Linked DNA regions of Homo sapiens: regions 1 and 3 are each linked to region 2. Evidence: promoter capture Hi-C in 16 types of primary human blood cells and fetal thymus (Javierre and others, 2016). All regions are on one chromosome and are shown on one strand. Each heading gives the region's core, a stretch centred on a gene start or on the middle of the fragment in contact. The rest is flanking DNA. Distances are from core to core; before and after follow the strand shown. Region 1 overlaps LOC124902957 (a long non-coding RNA gene). Region 2 holds the start of DYRK2 (dual specificity tyrosine phosphorylation regulated kinase 2). Region 3 overlaps LINC01479 (long intergenic non-protein coding RNA 1479).

Region 1 (4,281 bases), core at 1,531-4,030, 290 kb before region 2:
ACTCATTCCTGTGAGAGCAGAACCTCTTCGAGAGCAGAAGGTGAATTCTAAAAAAGACCAAGCAGGAAAGGGCTGCTTGAAAAATAAGATATGAAAACTGGAAAAGGCTAGCCAAGAGCTCATTCTTGTTGCAGATTTTATTAGCCTTGTGAGGTTCTTGGATAAAGCAAGCCAGTGGCCTCAGGTGGAGCTCTCCTTGGAGGAGAGTGAGTGGAGAGCTCTGCTTCTGATGAGTGGTCTCTGTACAAGCAGCGAGAGCACACTATGGACAGGGACACCATCAAGGCTGTGCTGGGGACCCAGCAGGAAGCTCTGCAGGAGCTACCACTCAAGTCCCCTGAGTTCCCCACTGAGACCATCAAGTGGGACTGCAGCATGTTCCCCTTTGAATGGGAAGGTCCAGATTATACACTATGGGTCTCTAACTACCAGCCCCCCAAAGGCAGGTACAATGACATCACCAAGATGTACACACAGGTAGAGCTCAAGAGAGAGTTGCAGCAGCCAACCTTGGAACATGAGGCCCCGAGAGTCAGAATGACCAGGGTTCCAGTCGGCTTTCCACAGAATCAGGCATACTGATAATAAAGACATGTTTAATCAAAAAAGAAAAAAAAATAAAAGGAAGAAAAACGTTGTCTTTATGACTGTTTGGAGCATTTCACCAAATTTAGGTTTTGTGAAAATGTAGACTTCTCAACTCTATTCCATTCTATTCTGGAACAGAATGCCAATTTATCTGAATAAACGTAGGAGCTCCATCAAAAGACTCTTCAAGTTGAAATATTCCAAAGTGCAATTATAGAATTTCAAAATTAAATCCTGTATCCTGTTTAAATTTGTATTGTTAACATTTGTTCACATCCTTTTTTTTTGTATAGACAAATTTCATTTGCTCTTCTGTAAGTTTTGTTTTCAATAACTTTAATTCTCTAAAAAGTTTTGCAAGCTGAAGGTTTTTGTTCTTCCACTTGTTGAATGCCTTGATTTAAAATTTCAATACTTGTTAATAAAATGTGACCAAAATTTAGAAAACTTGTTTACAAGAGTTGTACGCCACTTGGGTTGACTTGAAAGTAATTTATTTGAAGAATCAAACATTTCAATTAAAGCTTCATGATATGGTTTGGATTTCTTTTCCTGCCCAAATCTCATGTTGAATTGGAGGAGGGGACTGGTGGGAGGTCACTGGATCATGGGGGCAGGTTTCCTTCTTGCTGTTCTCCTGGTAGTGAGTGAGTTCTCATGAGATCTGATCGTTTAAAAGCATGTGGCACCTCCCTCTTCTTTTTCTTTCCTGATTCATCATGGTAAGATGTGCTTGCTTTCCCTTAGTCATCTGCCGTGATTGTAAGTTTCCTGAGGCCTTCTAGCCTCATGCTTCCTGTATAGCCTGTGGAACTGTGAGTCAATTAAACCTCTTTTCTTCATAAATTACCCAGTATCAGGTATAGCAGTGTGAGAACAGACTAATAGACTTCAATTAAAGATTTATTCTTGATAGGTCCAAAACTTTGGCTGATGGGGAAATGGGGCTGTCTAGAACGCCAGATACATGTTACAAGGGGAGGGAGGAAAGTAAGTGAGAGCATGTCTTATTCTTCTTCTGAACTGGTGAGGCAGTCATCTTAGCTGTCCATAGTGCTATGGACCACTGGAAAACAGCCCCTTTCTTAATGTCTTGGCCATCAGGAATGGTCATCCATCTGGCAAACATTTGCAGTTTGCCTACCACGTGTTAGATACAGCCTGGGGTGCTGGGGTTGCAGAGTCAAACTCTTAATCTTTTTTCAGAATGAACCTATGGCAGGTGAGAGGGGAAAACAAACCATTTTACCAGCATATGATGGGCACTGTGATGGAGTTATAAATAGGGTCTTGTAGGAGCATAAAAGCAAGGGGCTGCAGACTGCTTGGATGAGACAAGCGAAGGCAGCTCCTGAGCTGAAGTTTGAAAACAAGTAGGCATTACTCAGACTGTCAAAAGGCAGGCATTGGGCAAAAAAGCAAGAGCATATATGTAGTGTAGTGACTGAGGGTGCCTAGTGTATTTAGGGAAACCTTCAAGTAGCTCTGTATGCTGGAAGTTGAGTTTGTGTTGCAAGTGTGGAAGGTGAGAAATTTGCCTAAAATCAACTGATCAGAGGCTGGTGAACACTACAGGGAAAGGATTGGTGACAATTTAGATACATTTCTGAAACTTTTGAATTTCATAAAAGATGACCTCTCAGTGGCATTTTTTTTTTTTCAAGATGGAGTCTAGCTCTGTGGAGTGCAGTGGCGCGATCTTGGCTCACTGCAACCTCCACCTCCCAGGTTCAAGAGATTCTCCTGCCTCAGCTTCCCAAGTAGCTGGAATTACAGGCACCTGCCACCATGCCCAGCTAATTTTTGTATCTTTAGAAGAGGCGGCATTTCACTGTCTTGGCCAGGCTGGTCTCAAACTTCTGACCTTGTGATCCACCCACCTCGGCCTCCCAAAGTGCTGGGATTACAAGCTTGAGCCACTGTGCCCGGCTGACAATCAATTTTATACCGACAACTCTGTTTACTTTTGTATAATCTTACTGATAGGTTAGAACATGGCTATCTCATTGTGATGACAGATTGCAGGAGACAGTTGCTCAAATGATAGTATCGGTCTATCTTGGTCAAGTGTCTTAGCTATATGAATTTATCATTTAACACTAACAATACAAATGTTCAGCTGGTAAATAGCTCAAAGATCGACAGGAAGGTGTCTAAAACTACAGGAGTGTCCAAGCAAGCAAGGTTTCACAGTGAGGGAGGAAGTGGAATGAAAAGGGGGAGATGGCAGACTTGAAAAGAGCCCAAGAGTTTGGTTGTGGGCCAGTGAAGCATTTCAGTTTTCCGGATAGTTATGAAAACTGAAACTATGACTCCAAATGTGGGTTCAAAGGGAGGGTGGGATGCTGAAATATTGTTTTTGCTTTGTGTAGGCAGAGTTCCTGTCTCAAGAAGAGGTTTGGCAGTAACAAAGTTTAGCTATTCTGCTGGCCATCACTCCGGAAAGTGTTCCCACGAAGTGGCTGACTTAAAAAGTAAGCTTGACTAAGTATCATATCACATGAGCAGCACTGGAAAGAGGCAGAGCTGAGGGAAAGAGGGAAGCTTCTGTGTAGACGTCGACTTTACTCTTTGACCACCATACCTTGCCTTTCAGTTTGTGGGTAGCTTAGGAAACCGAAGTCAGACAACATAATTGGCTTTTGGGGGATAAGAATTGTGTCTTTCGGATGTTTCTCATAGTGCTTTACAGGATATACCCTCAAAAGAAGCTGAAAAAATTTTAAAAAGAAAGTCTGACACATTTCAATGCTGTGTTCAAGCCTTCTGTTTTCCAAAAGAGGCCATCAGGTATCACAGCAAATCACTTTTGTGGATTATAAAAGGAAGGTGACTTGCAGCTCTAAAATCTTAAATTCTCTGCTCCATGTTCTGTGTTTTATAAATAAGCATAATTGGTATTCAGAAAAGAAATCTGCAATCTCAGCCTACTTCAGGATGTTGGTGAGTTGACTAAGCTGTAAAACTCCTTAAAAGTCAGGATGTTTGGGCAGAGGAGGGCAAAATGTCTAGACAGAACAGAAGGTTTAAACTGCCCCTGGTGAAATTTAGTGGGAATTGACTTTAGCAGCTCTTCCTCCTGGGTGAATAGCTTGTGATTTGCGACTGTGAAGTGGTTGGACTGAAATGCTTTCTACTCTGAAGTTGTATGACTTTTTTTTTTCACATAGTGAATAGAGATATTGATGGAAAAGACATAACTATCAAGATAAAAGTGTGTTTTAAAATAATACTTTTAAGTATTCGACTGTATTCCTTTGTCCTTATGCAAACTAAACCTTGAGAAACAAAGACTGGTAAGATCTTGTGGAGAGAAAGTCAAATATTCCAATTCATTTGGCTTTGTTTGTGCCATATGTGTAAATAACTCCAACAAGATAGTCTGAGAAATAAGAGTTCATCTGGGAACATTCTTAGTCTTGTTATTAATGTTTTAAAATCCTTAGAACTCTTTTGCCAAATTCTGAGACTTAAAATGCAAAGATAAGGATGATTATTTTCAGAGCCAAGTGTGGAAATTATTCTTCTAGTATCTCTCTGTGTTCATGCGGTGCTATTGACTCTGGCAAAATGGGATCTCATATCTCTTTACTAATGAGAACTCAAATCTTCCCTGGGGACTGGCAACTTTAAAGGCTCATTACTCATATGTTTGATGTTATCTTTTGCTGGCAAATAACTGACGCTAGAGTC
Region 2 (3,898 bases), core at 743-3,242:
GCTTCTACTGAAGTATTGTACGAATAACTTAAGCAAAAAGGGGTGTCATATTATATTAAAATTGATTTTTTTGTTTCATTTTTTTATTTGAACATCAGTTGTATGGAGTACTCATTTTAAAAAGGAAAATGGTATGAAAATAATTGTTTTGAAAGGAGAAAAAAGAGGTGTGAGCTTTCTTGAAAGTGTAAGGAAAGTAGTGTGATGGAAGTCATAGTGAAATCAGACTGGGAGTCAGAAAACCGGTTCTAGTGTCATCTCTGCTACTTAGTAGCCCTTTTCTTTTAGTCGATTCTAAACACTAAATATGCTTCCGCATGTGGATTTAAATGTGATGGTCGCCAGTGACAAGCATAGGGGGATATTTCTTGCTAGGGTCAGTTCAGGTCATGATTCCTCTAAAGGCATATTATTGGATTATTTTACTGTGGGTCTACTTTATTAGGAGAAGGCCCCGAAAGGGTGTTTTGTTTTGTTTTGTTTTGTTTTGTTTTGTTTGGAGGGACGTAATACTAGGGAAAATTCTTTTTGTCACAGGTTCCCTCTCCCAGTGACCCTAACTTGGAGGCCTCTTTAGGAGTCCCAGAGACTCTGAGAGGGTCACACTGTACCTTGAAACAGTTTTTGGCGTTTGTATAAAGCTGCGGATGCGCTCTGTAGGAGGTTGCTATGACAATTTGCAAACAGTAGAGTGGATGAAACTCCGCAGGAGGTGGCTCCCTTCCGACTGGAGTCTGCACTAGTTCGGGCCTGCACAGTAGGTCCAGCCAGGAGCCAGAGATACTCGGGCGGGGCAGAGCATAATGGACCCCTGGCCCCAAGAGAACTTCAGAAACTAGGCACCTCTCGAGAAGGAAGTGCATGGCATAACTCTGCCCCGTCATCCGGGATTTGTCGGGCTTTCCCACCCCACCTCCTCTCACAGTTGAAGTGGCAAAACCTGTGACCTTTGAACAGAGGCGCACTGTGTGCCACGCACGACGAGGCGCGGATGTGAGACGGGAAAGCAATTTTTTTTTGGTCTTCAAGGAAAAGAGAGGTTGTATATGGCGAATAAAAAAGGCAGGGAAATTCTCCACGTGTCTTGGAAGGGAAGGGGGAAAGAGATGTGTCGGGTGGGGTGAGAGGAATTCGAGGTGTCGCTCCCTCACCGCAGAGCTGAAAGGAAGGTGTGTCTCTCCCAGTGGCCGCGCAGGGGAAAGGCTCGGAGTTGTAAGGAAATAGGAGATGTCTCTGATGTTTATTTTTGCCTAGCAACCCACAGCCAACTGCTTCCCCAGCTGCCGTCCACACGCGCCTCTCTGCCTCCCCTTGTCCTAGCGACTGGCGAGCGGTCACTTGGTGTCAGTAAACCGGGGAGGGTGTGTGGTGGAGGTGGGAGGGCAGCCCCCTCTTTCGCCCCTGCTCAGGGTCAACGAGCTCAGCGGCCGCCCCTCCCGGGACTTGCCTCTCCGAGGTGACCCTCGCACAACTAAGTTATCTACATGATGAATTGGGGAGAGGGGAGTGGCTAAGTCGCTGGGACCAAGAATGGGGGGACGGGGAAGCAGTACTGTCTGTGAGCAGCCATTCAGTTCGAAGAGCTGAAAATGCATTTATGTTTAGGGGTGCGCATGGCAGGGGAGGGGTCTCTGCGGCGCTTTCGGCCGGAGGGCAGCAGCGGTAGGTTGAGCTGTAGGGCAGAGAAGGGGCGCCGCGGGGCCGGGGAGGGGAAAAGGTCGCCGGAGTGGAGCCGAGGGAAGCAGTGCAGATGGCCGGAGGGGGCGGAGGAGGGCGAGCGGAGGCCGCCGAGTTTTCCGGGGAGCGGAGGGGCGGCTGCGCGCAAACCGGGGGACTGAGAGGAGCCGGGCGGGAGGTTGGGTGGGGGTGGGGTGTGCGTGGCCGCGGCCGGGGGAGCCGGGGGCGGGGCCTGCGGCGGCGGAGGAGGGCGGCGGAGGGCGGCGGGGGCGGGGCCGCGCGCCGGCGCCTGTGTGTGAGTGCGCGGGGGCGCGCGCGCGCGGGCCCGGGAGAGGCTCCCGAGCCAGGCGGTCTTCGGTCCTCGCAGCGCTTCCAGCTCCCCGCGCCCCTATGTGAGGGAGACGGGGAGGCCCGCGGCGCGCAGGGGAGGGCGAGGCATGTGCACGGGCCGGAGGGTGCTGCAGCCGCCCGAGGAAGAGGAGGACGGCGGCGAGGAGGAGAGCGGGGGGCTCGCGGCGGCGGGCCCCGGCCGAGGGGATGCAGTGGACTGTGTGTGTCTGGCTGTAGCAGACGCGAGGCGGCGACGAGGCGCCGGGGACCCGCGCGAGGGGCGGCCGGGAGGCGGCGGCGGCGGCCGCCAGAAGTAGCAGCAGGACCGGCGGCGGCGACGGCAGCCCTGAAATGCATTTTCCTCTCCAGCGGCCATGTTAACCAGGAAACCTTCGGCCGCCGCTCCCGCCGCCTACCCGACCGGTAAGGAGGCCGTGCCGCCGCGCCGCATCCCCGGACCCCCGCCGGCCCTGGGCAGCCCCTGTGGCGCGGGCGGCCGCTGCCTGCGGGACCTCGAACAAAGTCGGCGGCGCGGCGCGGGGGAGCCCCCGGGCGGACGACGCGCCCCGGGCTCCATGCAGGGTTGTGCGCGGCCCCGAAGGCCCCTCCGCGGGGAGCCCTCGGCCCGAAGAGGCTTCTGCCTGCCGGGGGCCCGGGCGGGGACCGTCCAGGCCTGCCGCCCCGCCCTGCGCTGCCCGGGGCTTGGCGTGGCCGTGGCTCCCTGCTCAGCTGTCCAAACCCACCTCCCGGCTGCTGGCCGTCTGCAACGTGGGCCGCCTAGCCCCGGCGCGGCCCGGCTCCCCCGCCGGGTCGCGAACTCGCGCGCCAGGGCCCCACTTAACTTTGCAGCTGCCCGCGCCCCGCCCGTGGGTGTGCGCTGGGGAGCCGTGACCCGAACGCCCGTTTTTACTGCCCCGGTCTCTTCCTCCGTCTTTCTTTGGAAGAGGGTTGTCGCTGCCCAGCGGGGTTGGAGGGGGGGTCTGGGTGACTTTCTCCCCCCTGACCCTCTTTTGTCTCCTCCCGCACGTGGCTTCCAGGCCGAGGTGGGGACAGCGCCGTTCGTCAGCTTCAGGCTTCCCCGGGGCTCGGTGCAGGGGCCACCCGGAGCGGAGTGGGGACTGGCCCGCCCTCCCCCATCGCCCTGCCGCCTCTCCGGGCCAGCAACGCTGCCGCCGCAGCCCACACGGTGAGACCCAGCCCGCGGGCGGCCCGGGCGGTGGGGGCGGGAGGGGCCCCAGGCCGAAGCACCCGGACTTGGAGGGGTCTGACGCCGGGAGAAGAGGGGTCGAGATACAAGCAGCCCCACGCCTCGGGCCGATGGTCTCTCGTCGACGCCGCCCTGGTTAAGTTGGGCGAGCCCAAAGCTGCAGCCACAAAGGAAGATTCGTGGCGTGGGCCCCTTACTTCCCCTCCAGAGCTCGCCCACCCATGACCTCCTCTTCCTAGGAACTTCCTCCTTGCTGCTTTCCTTCTTTCCTCATTTTTCGTCCTTGCATCCCAGAGTTCCCTTCCCTGACCCGGTAAACATCTCTGTCCTTCCCCCACCTCCCCGTGGGTAGTGGGTATTTATAGAAACAGATACGTGTTAGGGGACAGCCAGACCGGCCTGCCCGGAAAATCGATCCCCCAAAGAGCCTCCCAGGCCTGGCTCCAGCCAGCAGGGAGCATCGCCAATTGTCCCCCGCGTGTGTAAGCATGTTTTATGAGTGCTACAGGTTTGAGCACAGCAGAAATTGTAATCAACATTAACAAAAATAAGGGCCGCCGCAGCAGTCAAAACAAGCCACCCCTGTAGGATTCTGCAGTTGGACATTATTCAAAAGGAAAGGGCAAGCGTTGCTTTGGAGGTGGGAAAGAAAAAGCACCTAACAGGTGCTGTGGTCTCTGGGAG
Region 3 (3,766 bases), core at 829-3,328, 290 kb after region 2:
CCTACACAAGTCATTCATTCCTGTTACTTAATTTTCCTCAACTGGAGGAAGAAAAGAACCACACTTGCCACCTACATTTGTGATAAGACCTGAGTATATTTTTTAAACATCTGTGTTTTTCAGCCAAAGGTTATATACAAATACTAGGTGTTGTTATTATGAAACTGGCAACACTGAACACTGAGTAACTTTAAATAGAGTCACCATGTGGCAGTTGAGTCTTAGACATATGCACTGCTGTTCGTTTCTCACAGCAAGTGAGTGGCCCATTTGATGTACTGTGGCTCTGAGTGGGTCATCCATGGGGGCAAAGCTTGGGAGACACATAGTTTTGAGATTCAAACCGTAGGTGATTCCTCTAGTTGTCATGGTGTCCTGAATATTAAGTTCAGTTTTCAAAACAGACAGTCCACAAAATTGTCAACTCTGATGATCCTTTTAGAAAATAACCTAGGGCATTCTTCATCGCACCTGGAAGAAGGATGGTCCTTAAGAGGGGCTGTTCACATCCCTTTTTGTGTAATCAAAAGATCTTGATTCTCTTCCTTCAGATTTCTTTCAAGGAAGTAGAAAGAATAAGATTCTGGAATGTGGAAAGGGTAACTACTCCTCTTTTCTTGATGGCGAATGTTGTTAGTTTAACCTTCTATGGAAAGAAAGGGCAATGTAGGAAGTGCAGTGAATCCTCAGTTCCAAACAGCCATTGCAAATGGTGACTGCCTACCGTTAACCCACTGTAAACAAGTGCATTTCTAACACAATAATCTCCCTGCACCTCACTTGTAATTTACACAAACAAATTTAAGATCCACACAGTGTAGAAGCCAAAGCAGGGAGACAAAGCCACTGTCTACTCTCCCCACATTCTTTGTCCCAACCCCATCCCTTGTTGCTGGGCAGGTGCACAGGAGAGAGGGTGCGTGCACCTTTGTACAGTGGAGAAGCACACACCTGCTTCCTGCACCCCCTGGTGTCTCTCAGAACCACCAGCCAGAGGAGAGGTAAAGCTGAATTGCATGTTGCACTGAAAGGGCTGGGATCTAGTGACCCATCTCTCCACTCCAGTCTTTCACTCCCTTCAACACAGCTATAGAAGTGGAAATGAAAGAGAGGCAAAGACTGATATGGAAATCTAAACATAAGCAATGAATGATTTGTATCTTTAGGGAAACTTTCTCTTCCCACATTTTCCTCTTATCTCATAGAAGAAGGAATCTCCATCATGACTCTCAGAAACACCAAAAAGGAAAGATCCACCATCTCAATTCCTCTTTACTTGCTCTTCTTTACGGAAATGGGAATAATAATCTGATTGGTTAATTTGCCTCAAATCAGCAGACTGGATTCTGCTGCTATCTAGGGTACCGGGAAGCAAATGGGGGCTAGGTTTGACAAACGCTGGATGCCTGTGTTCAGTGATGGTGGACATCAATGGTGGAAGGCTTCCAACCTTCATGCGACAAGCAGACCAAGCACTGGGTTTAACAGTTGAAGATGAGAAGCTACAAGGCAAGCAAAAACCAGCAGCCAAGGGTGAGAGTAGAGAGAAGGGGGAAAGAGGCAGCGTGGAGCTATTCTAGAATACATGACTTTTATATAGTTTATAACAGACTACCTTCAGCTGGATTGAACAAAAAAAAACTGTCTTAAAAACAGTCTTTCCTTCTCCCAAAATAAATTTGGAGATAGATGAGCCAGGAAGTATAATGTTCTCCACAATCATCAGGGAATGAGAATCTTTCTGTTTTCCACTCTACCTACTTGGCCTGTAGCTTTTGTTTTCAAGGTCACTTCAAGGTTGAAAGATGGCCACTAGAGCTCTAGACATGGCACCCTGTCCCAGGGCAATAGGAAAATAGAAGGAGCCAGAGGAAGGACACACATCCCAGCTGAACTGAAGTTACACTGGGAACCCCACCTACCAACTTCTGCTAGCATCTCATTGGCCACTTCCAGCTGCAAGGTAGATTGGGATGTGGAGTCTTATCTAGACACAGTAGTGGCCTGAATAACATCATATGGGGTCACAGTGCATTAGTAAGGAAGAAGTGGATGCCTGATGAGTTCCAGGGAGCAATCAGATTAACCACATCTGCTCCTATGGGGAGGAGAAAGCAGAAGATGGAGAGGTTAAGACTCACTCCATAATACATTTATGAGAGATCAAAAGAATTGGCAAAATTTTCTTTCTCTGTAATCTAAAGGTGAGTAGAAAATTAAGGGAGTTCTCTGAATAAATTAAGACCATTACCTCATTACAAATATGCACACACACTTGCAAAAGTAGACCCACTTTTCATGGACAAATGCCAAGAAAAGAACAAGGTTAGAGAGGAAAAGGCTTCCTTCTACAGCTATATCTTCCCGTAAAACATTGTGGAGGGTGTATGTGTGTATGTGAAAGAGAGAGGGAGAGAGAGTAATGGAGTGGTGGTACTATTTTATTCAGAGAACGTTCTTAACTTTCTATGTACTTTTACATGTATCAACACAATCTAACCCTACTGAGCTCCTATTATAAAAATTAATCACCAAGGTTAGGGCACAGTTTGTTCCTGTGAAAGGACATTCCCAAAGAACAGATGTGGGGAGGACAGCCTTTCCTCTGGGTCCTATCACTAAGTTAATGGTCAGAATTCATGCTGTGGAGTGAACAGCCCATCACAGTCTGAGGCATTACCATGGAGGATGAGCTTTAGGGAACAATGGGATAAAGACAGACCAGACAGGACAGGCCGTCCAGAACACTGCCCAGAAAAATTCCCACCACCTCTGCCAGCTCCTAAACTGCCCGTGTAGGGAGATTTCTGCTGTTACACCATCAGCTGGTTTATCTTGTCTGCATGGCATGTTGAGAGAAGGCTGTTTGGGGGCCAGCTAAGTCAGTTTCTCTAGCTGCTGAAATAGCTTTCATAAAAATAGAGTTACAAAACTAATGTTAACGCTTGGGCTGTATACTGTCTTTTTCAGAAAAATAATGGTTATTATAAACAAGGAACAGTAAAGGTTTCTGGGAGAAAATATAATAGAAAAGTTGTCCTGGCACCCTTTGGAGAAGGTAATGGGACTCTCTCATGACCTTTGTTTCAGAATTGCTTTGTAATTCTGGTAAGATAGACACTAAATTGTCATTTCTGGACTGTATAGACACACTAAATTGTCATTACTGGAAGTATATACACAAACATGCAAAAATGGACCCATTTTAAAATAAGCAAATACAAGGGCCAAAATGTTCGATTACAGGTTCATGATGGATTTTTATTTTTTTAATTATACAAATGCTTATATTTTTCTAACAACAATTTCATTCGAAGAAAAGTCAGTTGATAAATTTTAAGGTTGTATTTATTACTCCTATTGGTTTTTGAAAAGTGTTCATTCAATCTAGGTGTTTTTAGAGTATCAGCTTTTGAACTCAGGGTTCTCAATCTTGAAAGCATAATGGTAAAAGTCCTGCTTTCATTTATTTAAGTGTTCTCAGAGACTACAATTGCCAATATAAATTTGAAAAAACAAAATTTACAGTACCATCGCTTTTTGGTAACAAATACTATATGCAAATCCACTTGTAAAACTATCTTACAAGTATTTTCTTAACAATGTTCTGCAACTAGTAGTTATGTTTTGAGGTGCCCAGCAAAGGAAAACGAATCCATCCACTTTGTGCCAGTCAGTAACAACCACAACAGAGCAGCTGATGTTGTTAACAATGCCCCTATTAGCTAAGGATCAGAAATGTTGTGACATTAGTTTCTGGGATCAT

What was found. Contacts are between HindIII fragments. The CHiCAGO score rates a contact against its expected background, and 5 or more counts as called.
Region 1: a contact is called between a fragment that was not itself captured here and the fragment with the promoter of DYRK2 in region 2, in 5 of 17 cell types (M0 macrophages, M2 macrophages, M1 macrophages and 2 more). The highest score is 11.0, in M0 macrophages.
Region 3: a fragment that was not itself captured here is called in contact with the fragment with the promoter of DYRK2 in region 2 in 2 of 17 cell types (naive CD4 T cells and M2 macrophages); the score reaches 7.1 in naive CD4 T cells.

What each region holds. Positions count from the first base shown.
Region 1 is chr12:67,351,550-67,355,830 of GRCh38, forward strand. LOC124902957 (a long non-coding RNA gene) reads left to right here. Exons shown (of 2, transcript XR_007063354.1): 2 at 1-1,131. It also overlaps the pseudogene MRPL40P1. Among named protein-coding and RNA genes, the nearest start is that of CAND1, 84 kb to the left of the region's middle. The HindIII fragment of the contact is 569 bases long and covers 2,497-3,065 here.
Region 2 is chr12:67,646,753-67,650,650 of GRCh38, forward strand. It overlaps DYRK2 (dual specificity tyrosine phosphorylation regulated kinase 2), which reads left to right and starts at 1,993. Exons shown (of 3, transcript NM_006482.3): 1 at 1,993-2,430; 2 at 3,045-3,193. The coding sequence starts at 2,382. RefSeq lists silencers at 1,656-1,765, 1,866-2,165, 2,176-2,835, 2,996-3,385. The HindIII fragment of the contact is 7,364 bases long and covers 1-3,898 here.
Region 3 is chr12:67,937,092-67,940,857 of GRCh38, forward strand. The region is part of intron 2 of LINC01479 (long intergenic non-protein coding RNA 1479); the gene reads left to right. Among named protein-coding and RNA genes, the nearest start is that of LINC01479, 9.7 kb to the left of the region's middle. The HindIII fragment of the contact is 3,534 bases long and covers 312-3,766 here.